5 separate regions of the Homo sapiens genome follow, and all the other regions are linked to region 2. The links are contacts of gene promoters, found by promoter capture Hi-C in blood cells and fetal thymus (Javierre and others, 2016). All regions are on one chromosome and are shown on one strand. Each heading gives the region's core, a stretch centred on a gene start or on the middle of the fragment in contact. The rest is flanking DNA. Distances are from core to core; before and after follow the strand shown. Region 1 overlaps ITGA6 (integrin subunit alpha 6). Region 2 holds the start of METAP1D (methionyl aminopeptidase type 1D, mitochondrial). Region 3 overlaps ITGA6 (integrin subunit alpha 6). Region 4 overlaps DYNC1I2 (dynein cytoplasmic 1 intermediate chain 2). Region 5 overlaps DYNC1I2 (dynein cytoplasmic 1 intermediate chain 2).

Evidence for each region. The method cuts DNA at HindIII sites, captures the fragments that hold promoters and counts their contacts. A CHiCAGO score of 5 or more calls a contact.
Region 1: a contact is called between a fragment that was not itself captured here and the fragment with the promoter of METAP1D in region 2, in 1 of 17 cell types (activated CD4 T cells). The highest score is 5.4, in activated CD4 T cells.
Region 3: a contact is called between a fragment that was not itself captured here and the fragment with the promoter of METAP1D in region 2, in 4 of 17 cell types (naive CD8 T cells, non-activated CD4 T cells, activated CD4 T cells and 1 more). The highest score is 7.0, in naive CD8 T cells.
Region 4: a fragment that was not itself captured here is called in contact with the fragment with the promoter of METAP1D in region 2 in 1 of 17 cell types (megakaryocytes); the score reaches 6.5 in megakaryocytes.
Region 5: a fragment that was not itself captured here is called in contact with the fragment with the promoter of METAP1D in region 2 in 5 of 17 cell types (megakaryocytes, activated CD4 T cells, naive B cells and 2 more); the score reaches 7.2 in megakaryocytes.

Annotation. Positions count from the first base shown.
Region 1 is chr2:172,431,649-172,434,348 of GRCh38, forward strand. All of the region lies in intron 1 of ITGA6 (integrin subunit alpha 6), which reads left to right. Among named protein-coding and RNA genes, the nearest start is that of ITGA6, 5.4 kb to the left of the region's middle. The HindIII fragment of the contact is 605 bases long and covers 957-1,561 here.
Region 2 is chr2:171,998,536-172,001,235 of GRCh38, forward strand. METAP1D (methionyl aminopeptidase type 1D, mitochondrial) reads left to right here and starts at 1,418. Exons shown (of 10, transcript NM_199227.3): 1 at 1,418-1,474. The coding sequence starts at 1,435. It overlaps LOC124905590 (a long non-coding RNA gene), which reads right to left and starts at 1,374. Exons shown (of 3, transcript XR_007087296.1): 1 at 1,144-1,374. RefSeq lists a silencer at 1,113-1,412. The HindIII fragment of the contact is 8,153 bases long and covers 1-2,700 here.
Region 3 is chr2:172,490,729-172,493,428 of GRCh38, forward strand. It overlaps ITGA6 (integrin subunit alpha 6), which reads left to right. Exons shown (of 26, transcript NM_000210.4): 21 at 296-394; 22 at 493-603; 23 at 697-795. The region is part of intron 2 of PDK1-AS1 (PDK1 and ITGA6 antisense RNA 1); the gene reads right to left. Among named protein-coding and RNA genes, the nearest start is that of ITGA6-AS1, 26 kb to the left of the region's middle. The HindIII fragment of the contact is 4,096 bases long and covers 1-2,700 here.
Region 4 is chr2:171,711,961-171,714,660 of GRCh38, forward strand. DYNC1I2 (dynein cytoplasmic 1 intermediate chain 2) reads left to right here. Exons shown (of 18, transcript NM_001378.3): 6 at 807-866. Among named protein-coding and RNA genes, the nearest start is that of DYNC1I2, 26 kb to the left of the region's middle. The HindIII fragment of the contact is 3,280 bases long and covers 1-2,700 here.
Region 5 is chr2:171,691,311-171,694,010 of GRCh38, forward strand. DYNC1I2 (dynein cytoplasmic 1 intermediate chain 2) reads left to right here. Exons shown (of 18, transcript NM_001378.3): 3 at 1,467-1,584. Among named protein-coding and RNA genes, the nearest start is that of DYNC1I2, 5.2 kb to the left of the region's middle. The HindIII fragment of the contact is 1,216 bases long and covers 802-2,017 here.

The DNA.
Region 1 (2,700 bases), core at 9-2,508, 430 kb after region 2:
TCACTCGGAGTGCCATGTGGCCCAGGGCCATCTTCCAGGGATTGCTGGGTCACCTTGAATGCTAAGAGTAGAGAAAAAGCCAAAACGGGCAGCGAGACTTACAGGAAGTCTTAGGACTCTGCAAGAAAGCAGAAATAGGCAAGTTTAATTTTAACACAGGCTGGTGTGAGACCAAGTAATGACAGGGTTGGGGAAAAAAAGGGTCAAAGTATTTATATGGTATAAATAATTTGTTGGGGAAGTCAGGATAAATGCTTATATAAAAGGATTCCTTTATTATAAAGAAGTGGTTATTCTGTGTTCTCAGTTATATAGACTCTCTTAGCATAACAATATATTGAGATTTAATTTAAGCTTTCATAACCAAATAGTACCAGAATTATGGCGCATGGTTTCCTGAAGACCTCGGCTCAACATATTACTGTGGACAGTGAGGCCAGTGAATTATTTGGTATTTTCAAGAGGGACAGTGAGACAAAACAGAAAATACTGTTGTAAGCTTAGATGACAGGGTCAATTGTGCCTGAAACACTGATTTAGTGCTGAATCAGCCCATTTTAAGAATATAATCATAGCTTAAGAACCAGTTTAAAATTTCCCCATCCTACACTAAAGCAATGTCTTTAACTCCTTTGGATGTCTGTAGCACATTGTGTCTGACAATTCTGATGTTTTGTGCTAAACTGTGATCCACTATCTTTAGGACATGATCTAATCTCTCCCAACTGGATTGTAGGTTATGTGAGGGCAGGGGTCTTACATTCATTTCTTTGCCTGCTAGCACCTAGCATATGCCTTGCAAATACAATAGAGACTGATATTATACACTCAGTTTAACCTGTGACATCAACTCTTCCTGCTGAGGGTGGAGAGAGGGAGAAATCCCTTTCTTTAACCCTTTGCCCTTCCTTGCTCAGGCCTTGGTGTCTTCTGCCTCTGAGGAAACGGAATCTGTAAGCTTAGCAAAGAAACGCACAAGACGTTAATTCTTGGTTTTTGATTTTTCAAAGGCGGGGGGTTCCAGCTAAGGGATTTTCATGAGTGTTTGTAAATTTCACCTGGCTTTTGCCCTAAAGGCAGACTTTAGAACCTAACCCCAGAAATACAGGCTGACCTACACTGCAGTGGGTACTCGGGACTTGCTGAGGTGGTTGGTTGTTATGAGGCTGGACAGAGAAGGATGACTGTGGAATAGAGATCTTTCTGAAAGCAACTTGACAGGGGTGTGGGGGTCAAATGGAAGTGTGCAGTACACGTGTGAAGTCACTTGTGAATTGATAGCGGCAGGTTTATTTCTTCAAGGATAGTAAGGGAATCTTGGATATATTTAACTCTTTCGGTAGGATGGTGGGAAGGCTGCTTACCTGCTCCGGGGGTGAGCCTAGGAGCCATAGCATGGGATCTGGGGATCTGTGTAGCACCCCCGCTGGCTCCTGGGAGGATGGTAAAGATTACGTACTGCAGCAGTGGGAAGTGGACGTAGTCTCAGCCCCCGGTGCCCATCTTCCCTTTCTGGGCTTGGGTACAACTCTGGAATCAAATAACTTTATATCTGGAAGGAAGCTTAGGGGTTCTGAAACCTGGCTGGTCTTCAGGGTAACTACTTGGGCAACCTTTTATAAAAGTGTGATTCTCAGCCCAGCCTAGATCTGTTACGTCAGTTTCCATAAGTGTGCTCCAAGAAGCTGTTCTTAAAGTCTTCTTCGTTTGAGTCAGACTAGCTTTTCTCCTTTACACAGAAGGCAGAGTGTAATGTAGTGACTAAGAGCAGAGCCTAGAGCCAGGTAGGATCAAACCCTTTTCTGCCATTGACTAGCTATGATTTTGTGCAGGATTCCTAACCTTCCTAGGCCTTCCTGCCTTCAGCTGTGAAGCTAGTATCCTCGCACATTAGAATAGTCCTGGTCCAGAGTGAGCATTTTGTGTTTGTTAAATAGATGAGGAAACCAAGGCTGTAAGAGGTGCAGTGGTGGCGGCATGTCTAGCAAACTTGGTCTTCAATCTGCATCTTCCCTGCTTCCCGGCCTGTGCTGTGTATGTGCTTTCTCCTTTTAGGTTTGGTTTTCATCACGTTTAAAGGTTTGGTTTTCATCACATTCTCCCTTTCTTCCATTCCACTCTCCAGTTGAAAAGTGCATCTCAGAAGAGCCATGCCTTCTACTTAGCAGCCCTTCGTAGCTACTAAGCCATAGATAAATCCCAGTGAGGTCTCAGTGTTCAGAGATGAGTGGACAGATGGGTGCATAGACATGACGGGGCAGTGACTGTGAGCTGGATACCCATGGAGGGTGGGTGGTGCAGTTATAGGTTGGGCTTACTGCTAAGGAATACCACCTGTCTGGTTTCCAGGCCTTCTTAGACCTCTATGACCTTGAAAGCACCCCCACACCTCCATCCCTAGGAGGCTGGATAACTTGCACAACACCCAGGGCAGGTTTGAAAACGATTTATTTTTCTTAGTTTTTTGCTTGGCACTAATGTTTGCTAGGAAGGAGCTTGTGGATTATTGATGACAAAACTGCCTAAGGTTGGAAAGTATGTGGGCAAATATGGAAGTAGTGTTTCCTTCACAGGTTTGTTAAACTGGCATTTAGATTTGCAAACACTGATCTCTTGGAATTAAGTTAAAAGGCTAATTGTTAATTAGCCCTGAACTGGGGCAGGTAGATGGGCCTCTCACCAGTGCAGGTCCCTGTCAAC
Region 2 (2,700 bases), core at 168-2,667:
CTTATTTACCCTGATGGAAAGCATTACTTCTCTTTATCTTTCAAGGTGACCCAAAAGCATCCAAAACCAGGTTTTCCAGAATTATAGCATGTGTCCTCTAATGAAATGCCAACATTCACTCTCTTTAAAAGTAAAAATATCAAGATTATATAGTCATTAAAAAGAATAAGTCTGAACTAAGTGTTCTAAGATTTGATGCCTATGATGACTGGAATGGAAAAAGCAAGTCATATGATTCTATTTAAAATACTTACATTTGCCTGTGTGTAAAAGGCAAAGATCTCAATTGAGCACACGGTGGTTAACTGGGGAGTGGGACTATGGTATGTACAGAGGGCGAGGAAGGGGCTTGCACTTGTTCCTTATTTCTGAATTGTTCTGAATTGTCTAGATTATTCACTGAGTGTGTAGTGCTTAAAAATTAATTAGAAGACATCACACACATTCACTGAGAATCCTAATCAATCTTCACTGCATTTAAAGTCTGGAAACGGTTACATTCTCAGTTTGACTGGTTTCATGCAGTGTTCAATTGCTTCACCTGACATTCCTCGGGTATCGGGTTCTGTGCCGGGCACGGAGGCTACTAAGATGAATAACACCTGGTCCATGACAGGATGGCATCTACCCCAGAACACAGGTAAGAGAGACAGTGAATTTGGTAAAAATGGGCACCGTCATCAGTAGGCATACATCAGCTCCCTCATCTGATTCACAATTGGCCTTCTGTAGGCTTCTTCTCTTGGCAATGCAATTGGCAGGCGTCATCCTTTTATACTTAAACTCCAAATTTAGGATTAAGACTCCAGTTAATACTGCCAAGCAGAAGGCGTCCTTGGAGAAAGAGAAGTCTCCTGAACATACCCACTGGGGTACCTAGAATAGATTTTGCAGCGACACACAGATCCTGTGTTGTCTGGAGTCTCTGCTGAGTAATGTAGATTCTGGGACAGCAAAAGGGGAGCTGGTGACTTTGAACCAAATTTTACCTTTCAACTGAATCCAGGGGAATAATTTGCAACAGAGTGGCAGACGATACAAAGTGCTATGTTGAACACTAGATTGTGCTTTATTTTTTCCGCCCAACTTCACGTTTCCATGCACCAAAATGTTGATGCTATAAATATTGGATGCCACGCTTACCTGACAGGCTTCTTCCATCCCACCTGGGCGCGGGGGCTCAGAGCGAGCGCGCGAGCCGCGGCTGGAGCCCGCCTCTCGCGGCTGGAGAGGACTCAGCCGGCCGCGGGTTCTGCTGCTTGCCCGGGTGCCCTAGCCGCTTCCCAGCCAGGGCTCCCGCAGTCAGCCCCGCGCGCGCACGCGCGCTCCCCTCGGGCGGCCTCGACGCCTCAGGGCTTCGGCAGGGCTGCGACTGGCCGGCTCCAGCGGGCGGGGCGGCGAGCGAGTGCTCGCGGCCACGTGACCGACGCCAACATGGCGGCGCCCAGTGGCGTCCACCTGCTCGTCCGCAGAGGTAAGCGCGTGGAGGAGAGCCCCGTGAGGGTTCGCACGGTTGCTCACTAGGTACGCACCCGGGTCCAAAGGGATGCGCACCCGCGCTCAGACTTCTCGGCGCACACGACTGTACTTTCAGTGTTTACGAACACACGCAGGCACACACGATGACACATTCACACACCACAGGATCACACATACAAATTTGTTCACTGATCACCCGCCTAGAACACGTCACCACGTGGCATCTTTTCGCAATTACTCCTTGAGATTTGCGGGCCATTGTCTGAAGTTTTTTTCCCCAACTTCGGTTGTATCATTAGTGTAACCAACATTTATTCTGTATGCCGAGCAAGGAAACCTATGGTAATTCTGAAATGCATCTGGACACCCGGTTCCCTTCCCTAGAGCTTTTATGCAGGCATGCTTTTTGGGGACTTGCAAAATGTGATGGTTTTCTTCCAGTGACTTAAAGTTAAGAAGATAAGAAAGGATGTCTGGGTAGTTCTAAGTAGGTTTTATCCTGCGTGAGTGTTGAGATTTTAGTAAATATACAAATGCCTTTGCAGCAGAATTGGGGAAATCTTTGTTGGATTTGAACTAGGTGCTGAATCTTTGTTGGAAAGAACTAGAAAGTTTTTCCAAGGACGGGGGAAGAGGAAAACTATCATATTTTGAGGAGCTACTTAAGCGTCAGGCATGTAGGAACAGTTTTGTGAGGTAAATATTATTTTCATAGTAACAGCTACTGTTTATTAAGTGCCTTTTAAGTACACGATACTGTGTTAAGCGCCTTACATATGCTTGCTTCCTTTTAAAACTCAATGAATGAGACCCCGTCTCTACAAAAAATTTTAAAAATTAGTCGGGCGTGGTGACACATGCCTGTAGTCTCAGCTATTCTGGGGGTTGAGGTGGTAGGATCGCTTGAGCCTGGGAGGTCAAGAGGCTGCAGTGAGCCGTGATCGTACCACTGAACTCCAGACTTGGCAATAGAGCCAGACCCTGTCTCAAAAACAAAAACAAAAACCCAGTGAGTTAGGAATTATTTTCTCTTTGCAGAAGGGAAAAGTAAGGCTAGAGAGGTTAAGTAACATTACTAAGGTCGCATAAATGGTAAGAGGCAGATTGCTCATTTGAACATGACTCTAATTTTTTTTTTTAAGACTCATTTCTCGGTACTGCATGACGTGGTCACTCCATAGAAGTCAGTGTGTAAAGTTCAGCAGAGACAGTGCAGGATGA
Region 3 (2,700 bases), core at 134-2,633, 490 kb after region 2:
TGCCCACAGTTTGGTGGGGATACAGAGGAACAAAGAAAGCATATTTCTCTTTCTCTGAGTTTTAAGGTCAGAGTGGGAATGAATTACTTAGTCCTATGAGTAAATCAATAAACTTGAATTTAGAGTGATAATACTTGCTGGTTTTACACTTACTTCTGTGCCTTTGGCAGGAGAGAGGCAAATATTGTTGATTATGTGAATCTGGCACTGTTTGGGAGGATATGCTCAAGAGGCTTGTATGGTAATGACAAAGAATTACATAAATTGGAACTATTTTGGATATAATTTTTTTCAGGAGTCTCACAACTCAAGAAAGAAACGGGAAATTACTGAAAAACAGATAGATGATAACAGAAAATTTTCTTTATTTGCTGAAAGAAAATACCAGACTCTTGTAAGTATTTTTCAAGAGCTGTGAATATTTGAGAGGATGAGGGGAAGGATTTCTTCAGAACAATGTCTTTTGATGACCATTCTTCTTTTTCTCTCTAGAACTGTAGCGTGAACGTGAACTGTGTGAACATCAGATGCCCGCTGCGGGGGCTGGACAGCAAGGCGTCTCTTATTTTGCGCTCGAGGTTATGGAACAGCACATTTCTAGAGGTATGACCTTGGCTTGAGGCTGTCCCATGGAAGTAATTTGCCTTTGCCTAGGACACTTTTCACTTCCCTAATGCATTCACTGTCTCCAAACAGGAATATTCCAAACTGAACTACTTGGACATTCTCATGCGAGCCTTCATTGATGTGACTGCTGCTGCCGAAAATATCAGGCTGCCAAATGCAGGCACTCAGGTGAGAGGTTCCCCAGCTTCATTCAGGTTCAGAACATGTCTCTTTTCCCTGTACCCCACACTCATGTCCTGAAGTCATGTGCTTTGGTGCTCATTTCCCTCATAGCCCCATTACGGAGAAAACTGTCTTAAGGTACTGGCACTGCAAGCTGTATTTTAATAGAATCATTGAAAAAAAGAAGTAAATCTAGGGTCATCCAGTTCAGCAGTGCCCATGGTAGGTTTGAGAACTACTGGCTCAATTCAGAGAATGGGTGCACCTCACAGCCCTCTAGAAACCTGTGTCTTCTACCATCTCTAATGCTGCAGCCATTGGTGTAATGCCCCAGTGATGGCCCATCCCTTGGCCAGCTGTAATTATTAAAAAAGATCTCTTCATAGCTGACTCCTGAACTGAACCTTGTAAGTCCCTGGTTATGCCCCTCAAACAAGTCTAAAATAAGTTCTCTCTCTTGGCCATGTAGCAGCCTCTCAAATAATTGAAGGAAATGGTCATGCCTCCTTGGATGTTTCTTATTCTTCTCAGAGCTTATGCACCCAGCTCTTGAGTTATGCGTCACATTGGGCACAGCTGAACTGGCTCCTGGCCTCTCCCTTCCTGGGCAATTTGATTCCCACGTGGACAGAGCAGCTGAGGTGGGGTCTGCTTGGTCCCACTTACCCTGGGGCCTTTACCTCTCAGCATCTCGGCACCACACTTCTGTCAGACCTGCCTAAAATTTGCTTTTTCAAACCATTGCTGAGCAGCATGTTTGAATTTCTAGCAGCTGCTATTTTTGTGTTAGTGTTCTACTGAAACTTCCAGGTGTTTTCATCAGAATTTGTTGTCAAGCTGTGTTTCCAGTATCCTGTCCTTGAGCTATTTGTAAAAATCTAAATGTATGCCTTTAAGTGTATCCTTACATTTTATGTGATTTGCTTTGGGTCCATTGTTTCAGTTTGCAAAGTAATTCTGAATCTTGCTTCATCATTTGCTTTCTCAACTTTCTATCCCTGAAAGTTTTAAAAACTGAGAAGCATGTTCTCTATGTCTTCATCCAGGTAATGACAAATATGTTGAATAGGACTAGGTGTAGAACCTTGTAGTGAACCAATAGTGAGGGGTTCCCTGTGGGAGTCTAGAACCCACAGGGACTTGTATAAAGATCTCGAGGCAGAATGACTGCATGTCATGGTGGGAATAATGAATGGGAATGTTTTGCAAAAGAGACTGGAGAAAGAAATACTGTGAATTACTGTTCTTAAGTTAATCTGCCAGTCTACTTATGGAAATGTTCTGGCTTCAGTCATTTAGCTAGCTGAAAATTCAGGGAGCCTCCCTAATCATTCTGTTTTCTGAAATATAGCAGTCCTTACGATTTATTATCCAAGCAAGAATACATTTTTGTTTTTATTTAGTTTTTTGAGATGGAGTCTTGCTCTGTTACCCAGGCTGGAGTGCAGTGGCGCAAACACAGCTCACTGCAGCCTTGAATGCCTGGGCTCAAGCAATCCTCCTGTCTCACCTCCTGAGTAGCTGGGACCACAGGCATGCCACCACGCCCAGCTAATTTTTCAGTTTTTTTTGTATAGCCAGAGTCTCACCATGTTGCCCAGGCTGGTCTTTAACTCCTGGACTCAAGCAATCCGCCTGCCTCAGCCTCCCAAAATGCTGGGATTATAGGTGTGAGCCACTGCACCCAGCCCCAGGATACATTTGCCTGAGACAAATGCTGTACTGGGCAAGCTGCTGCGATAAGTGGTATCAACCAGCACTGTCCCGGTCTCTCCAGGACATATCAACAGGCATCATAAGGGACTTTCAAATAAACCACACCTTCCCTAAGGATCCTTTCTCTGCATCTATAAAGGCAGCAGGTATAGCTTTCTATAACTGTAAATCAGCAACTCTGAAAATCACTGAGAT
Region 4 (2,700 bases), core at 12-2,511, 290 kb before region 2:
AAAGCACCTTTTGTTCTATTAGTAACTAAGTTTGGCTTAAGTGGAAAAGATCCTCTGTAAGTTACTTAGCCAGCAGGCGATGCTAAAACTTATAACTCAATATTTAGGATTGACATTTGAACATAAAATATTTTTCCAGGGAAAAATCTATTTTTTTCCTAGAGACAGAAATCTTTAGTTGTTTTCTTTAAGCAGATGATACGTAAGCCCAAGGCGGTGCTTAACCCATAAATTACAGAAGGGTCACATTTTGGAAACTTTAGCTATTTTGTATCCCAGTGGGATAGTCTTTGGTTTTATTACCAAAAGGCTTATGTGTTGACTCATTTCCTTTACCAGTATGACAATTTCCTGCACACATGTAATGCTTTGGGGAAGATTAGAATATGTTAACCAAGATGTTTTAATGTGTTTGTTTTCATTAGGAATCTTAAAATTTCAACCATTTTATAGCCTAGCTTGTTATCCATAAATAATTAACTTGGGTTGTCTGACTTTAGTTGTTCTAAAGCAGATCTATTATTATACAATATTAGTTTCCCATAATCTGCAAATAATGTCTTTTAACTATTCTGGGTTGTATGCTTGCATCTTTAACCATAGGAAGCCTATTGCATGCACTAGATGATTGAGTGACCTGGTGGATTTCTTGTTTTGTTTTCGATTTTTTTTTTTTAATACTAACCAGAACATGTGTTTTTTAATTGTGAATAGTACTTTAGCTTTAGCTATTCATAGAATGTATTTGCTTGACTAACTTATGGCCTTTTTTGCTAATGCTTCATGGTTGTCCTACAACCATTTAGGACGCTGCATTGGGATACAGATCCATCAGTTCTTCAGCTTCACTCAGATTCCGATTTGGGGTATTGAATAGATTTTTTACCTTCCCTGTTTTATAATGAATTTGATTCTTTGTGAAACTGTCCTAATTTTATTTTGCTTAAGTTTATAATATTGTATCACGTAGTAAGGACAAGAGTTATATTTTACTGTGACACCTCATTTATCCAGTATCTTTAGTGAAAGAATATTCTGTGTGATGTTCTATGTACCCTGAGTCCATTTAAGTGTCCAAATGTTTAAAATTATTTCTATGTTTTTAATACAAGTTTTGTAGGATGTATTAAAAAACTTCTCAGACTTCTTCTAATATTCTACATGTAATTGAACCTTTTCAGGGTTACTTGATATGAATATTAATTTATTTTTCTGTATTAAAATTCACTGATGATTTCTAAGATTTTGAGAATAATGGAGATGCTGGTCCTTACACTGTTCATTCATTCATTACTATTTATTCATGAATCTAGAATAAAACTATTCATGAATCTAGAATAAATAAATGAGTGAATGAATGGATTAATAGATTATTCATAGAATGTATGGATGAATATTCTTAATATAATTGTCATTGAGCCCCTAGGTTAAATAAATAGGTTCTTTTCTTTCTTCCTTTTATTTTTGTTTTGTTTTTTGCTTTTTTTTTTGGCATATTTTCTTAGTGAAACGTTAGAAAACTAATGCTTTATAGTTTCTGTATGTCTCTTTTTTAGAGTTTTAAAACTTGTTCTTTTAGAAGTTAGTGTTGTAAGCTGTATGTATGGTTTTTTAATTTTGTTGACATAGAGATAAGATTATCCATCCATTCATTCATTCAGTTATTTATTCTAGATTCTAATGCAAATTATAAATGTTTGCTGCTGCCATTTTGCCTGACTCAGATAGCCCTTTTCCCCTGATAATTTACAGCTTCAAAAACATATGAATATACCTTTTGGAATTGTGTCTAAAGTAAGGTAAATAAGCCTTGATTTGAGGCATGTAAGAAAAATATATGAGTTTCTTGTACTTGAACTGGAAGCCCTCTGTAGTGGCCACACTGAGGCTTCCCCCTCCTGCCTCCCATTGCTTCCTTATTTTCAGTAAAAGTGGCTTTTGGATAAGTGAGGTATTACTTCCCTACCCACCTCCTCCTATAAAATCTTGGAATATTTCGTTTGTTTAGTATTATGGTTTTTTCTGTTAGACTCTGTATGCATTCAAGTTGGTAATTGATTCCTAATATTGTTGGCTTGACGATTTTTTTCCAGCTATGTGAGTGATTTACTTTTTATATAATTTGCATCTTAAAAATCAGAATATAAAGTTTCTTATTTCAAATTTTATTCTTAGACTTCTAGATTACTTCAGATTACTTAAATTGTCCACTTAATTCTTTGACTATACTTTTTTTTTCCCTTTCTTTTTTATTTCTAAACTAGAAAAGACATTAAAAAATTGTTATGGCCCACATTTTGGAACATTAATTTTTAAAATGTACTAATTTTATTATACTTTATAGTACTTTGTTATGCTTTATTAGATTGTATAGGACTTGGATTTAGTTACTAAATAGAACTGAAAAGAATATTTATATAAGAAAAAAGTTATATTACCAGCGATAGCCTGCTTTATATTCTGAAAGTTGCAGCAGTGTCTTTATTGTATATCCTTTTAAGGCAGCTTCATCACTGAGAACTTTTTTGGGAGTCTGGAAGCGTACTTTATTTGGTTTAGGATTTAAACATCTAATAAAACCAATAAAAGATCTCCCAGATAGCTAATAAAATATATTTTTCTTTTGGTTCATTTTCCTCAGCCACAGCTCTCTTCCATTGTCAAAAAAGAATGTATACCCTGTATTTCTAAACAGAAGTG
Region 5 (2,700 bases), core at 160-2,659, 310 kb before region 2:
ATACTTTTATCCCTATGGAAACTCTTTAGACATATCAGTGTACTTTTACTACAGATATGTTTTAAATACCTAGTGTAAGGTAGTTTTTCTTGTGTGTCTTTAGGACCAAGTTTTTATATGTGGTAGCCTAAATAATGGCCAAGACTGCCAGAAATCTCTTGGGGACTAAGAGAAAAATAAGTAGTAGAAAAGTTGAAGGTACAATTTATGTGCAGCATTACTATGATGCTGTAAAGGCCTGTAATTGAAGAATTTGCTAGTTTATTCTGAACCTTTCTGTGAGACATTATAAGAGGATTGGAGCTTTACATTAGCTATTAGATTAAAAGCTGACTGGTAGAAGCATGATTCAGGTTGGCAGAGCTATTCCAAAATAATATTTATATCCCTAAACATTTCCGTGCTGAGAGCAAATTTCATTTTTGTTTTCTAATGATGGCCATAACTGGCAAAAATGGGTTCTAAGGGATATCTATTGCATGATTTATACCTAATTTAAAGCTTGTAAAACTTATTGAGTCACACAGACCAATGGGAAAAAACAAAGTTTATAAAAATGTTACAAGAGATAATACAATGGTATTAAACTGTGAGTCTATTAATATATTTTTATCAACAGTGAAGCATCAGCTTGATATTACAACCTGTTTTGTTATTTTGATTAATTTTTCTGATGACTTTTAAGTCAAAATGGCATAGAATATTATGGCTAACAAAATTCACTCCAGACAGTGTCTGAGTAATAGTTGTCTAGGTGGCATAGGGATTTGAGATTTACATAAAAAAAACTTTTCCTTGGAAAGCTTACATTTTACTTGAGAAGTCTTGGATGATCTGAGAGTATTGAGGTTTATCTAGTTTAACCAGCAGATTGTGCTAAAACGATAAATAGCCGAGATAAAAGCTGACAAAAATTTTCATAACAAAATGTTTTGTGCTATGCAAAAGTGAGTTTAATTTTACAAAACACAATCCCAAATAAAATGAAGACTTTATACAGAAGTTTGTGATACTCTTTTTCAACAAATCATATTGTCATTCACTTAAAATTTGTTACCTCTTAAATAATTACACTTTAATTTTTTCATTGTATGTGATATTGTATCTAACCTTTTGTGCCACTTGGGGGAAGTTGTCTATTATTCCTGACCATAGACAGCAATTTCATACTGTAGATAATTCGAAGTTGACTGTACTTCTTGAATTTGTCTGTTAGGAAAATTTTTGTGGAAACTCCTTGATTACATATGAAGATAGAGCAGTTTAGTACATATCATTTGAAGGTTATTTACTAGAACTCTATTGAGAATGATTTTCATTTAATGACTATAAAAAGAACTTAACCTGTACTCAAAACTAAGTTCATGCCTTAAAAGTATACAGTGTTAGCATATTATTTAAAACATTTTTGCAAACAAATTTTTCATACTATATGTAAACATAAGTTTTTAACCTAAACATTTTAGACAGACCAGAAGAAGGAAGCTGTTGCTCCTGTGCAAGAAGAATCAGATCTTGAAAAAAAAAGGAGAGAAGCTGAAGCATTGCTTCAAAGCATGGGGCTAACTCCAGAATCCCCCATTGGTAAGGTTAAGAATATATCCATTTATAAGAGATAGGCATAGATTCTGTTCAGCTCAGACATAGCTGAGTGGATTGACTTGATATATTTTACATATTTTCCTTGTGTCTCTAAAATTATTAATCTTTTATTTGGAATTGTCTTTTTTTCAGATATGCTAGTACATGGTTATTTTATTTGTTCAAAAGAGCTGCAAGAGTAATTATTAACATATACTGAACTACCAATTGACTTCTCTTATTAAATCAGTAATTTATTTCAACAAACATTGGTTAAGCAAGTTTTATGTGCCATACTGTGTTAAGCTCAAAGATAACTAGGATTCCTGATCTGAACTCTATATTCCTTTCTGGAGATTAGCGAGAGATACAATCAGACTTATATTGTTAGAATGCAAAATATATTAGTATTCAAAGGTACAGGAGTGGAAGGATAAGCTTATAGCCTTCTGCTGTTAATGCTAATAAGGGAGATAATTTTGTGGCTTATTTTCGAAGTGATTTGACTTAATCTTATTATTTTTCTGGGTTATTCATTTTGATAACTGTACTAGACCAAAAAAGCTGAAATAGTAGAGGTACACAGGACAATCTAGTTACATATCAGGAACAAATGCTTACTTAAAATAGTTCTGTGCTGGGTGCTATTATGTAGTATTTTAGTTTAACATGGCCTTTATCCTTTAGAGACCTAACATTTTAGGGCTAGTTGGTGGGCTAATTTTATCTAGTCCAGGGGACAAATACTGGAGATTGTAAATGCTCTATGCTTGTTGTGAAACTGCAACATAACTGTCCTTAGAGCTGATATTTCTAAAAGGTTTCAAGATGAAAAGGCTGGCTACTCTCATGGTCAGCTTCATTGTTATTTCTTTCAGCTCATTTTCCTTTTCTTGTAGAATTTGAAGACTGAAGTATATTAATTTTATGTATTTATTCAATAAGCTTATGTTGAACATGCAATTTTAAAAGTAAATGAATCAGAACACTTAATTTCTTGTAACTAAACCAAGTTGCTTGTTAGCCTTTGTTTGAGTTACCTTTTTTTTCTGTGCTTTGGCTTTTGTTTTTCTCCTATAGGATTTTTTTTCTTTTATGTTCTTCTTAAGACTTTAGTTT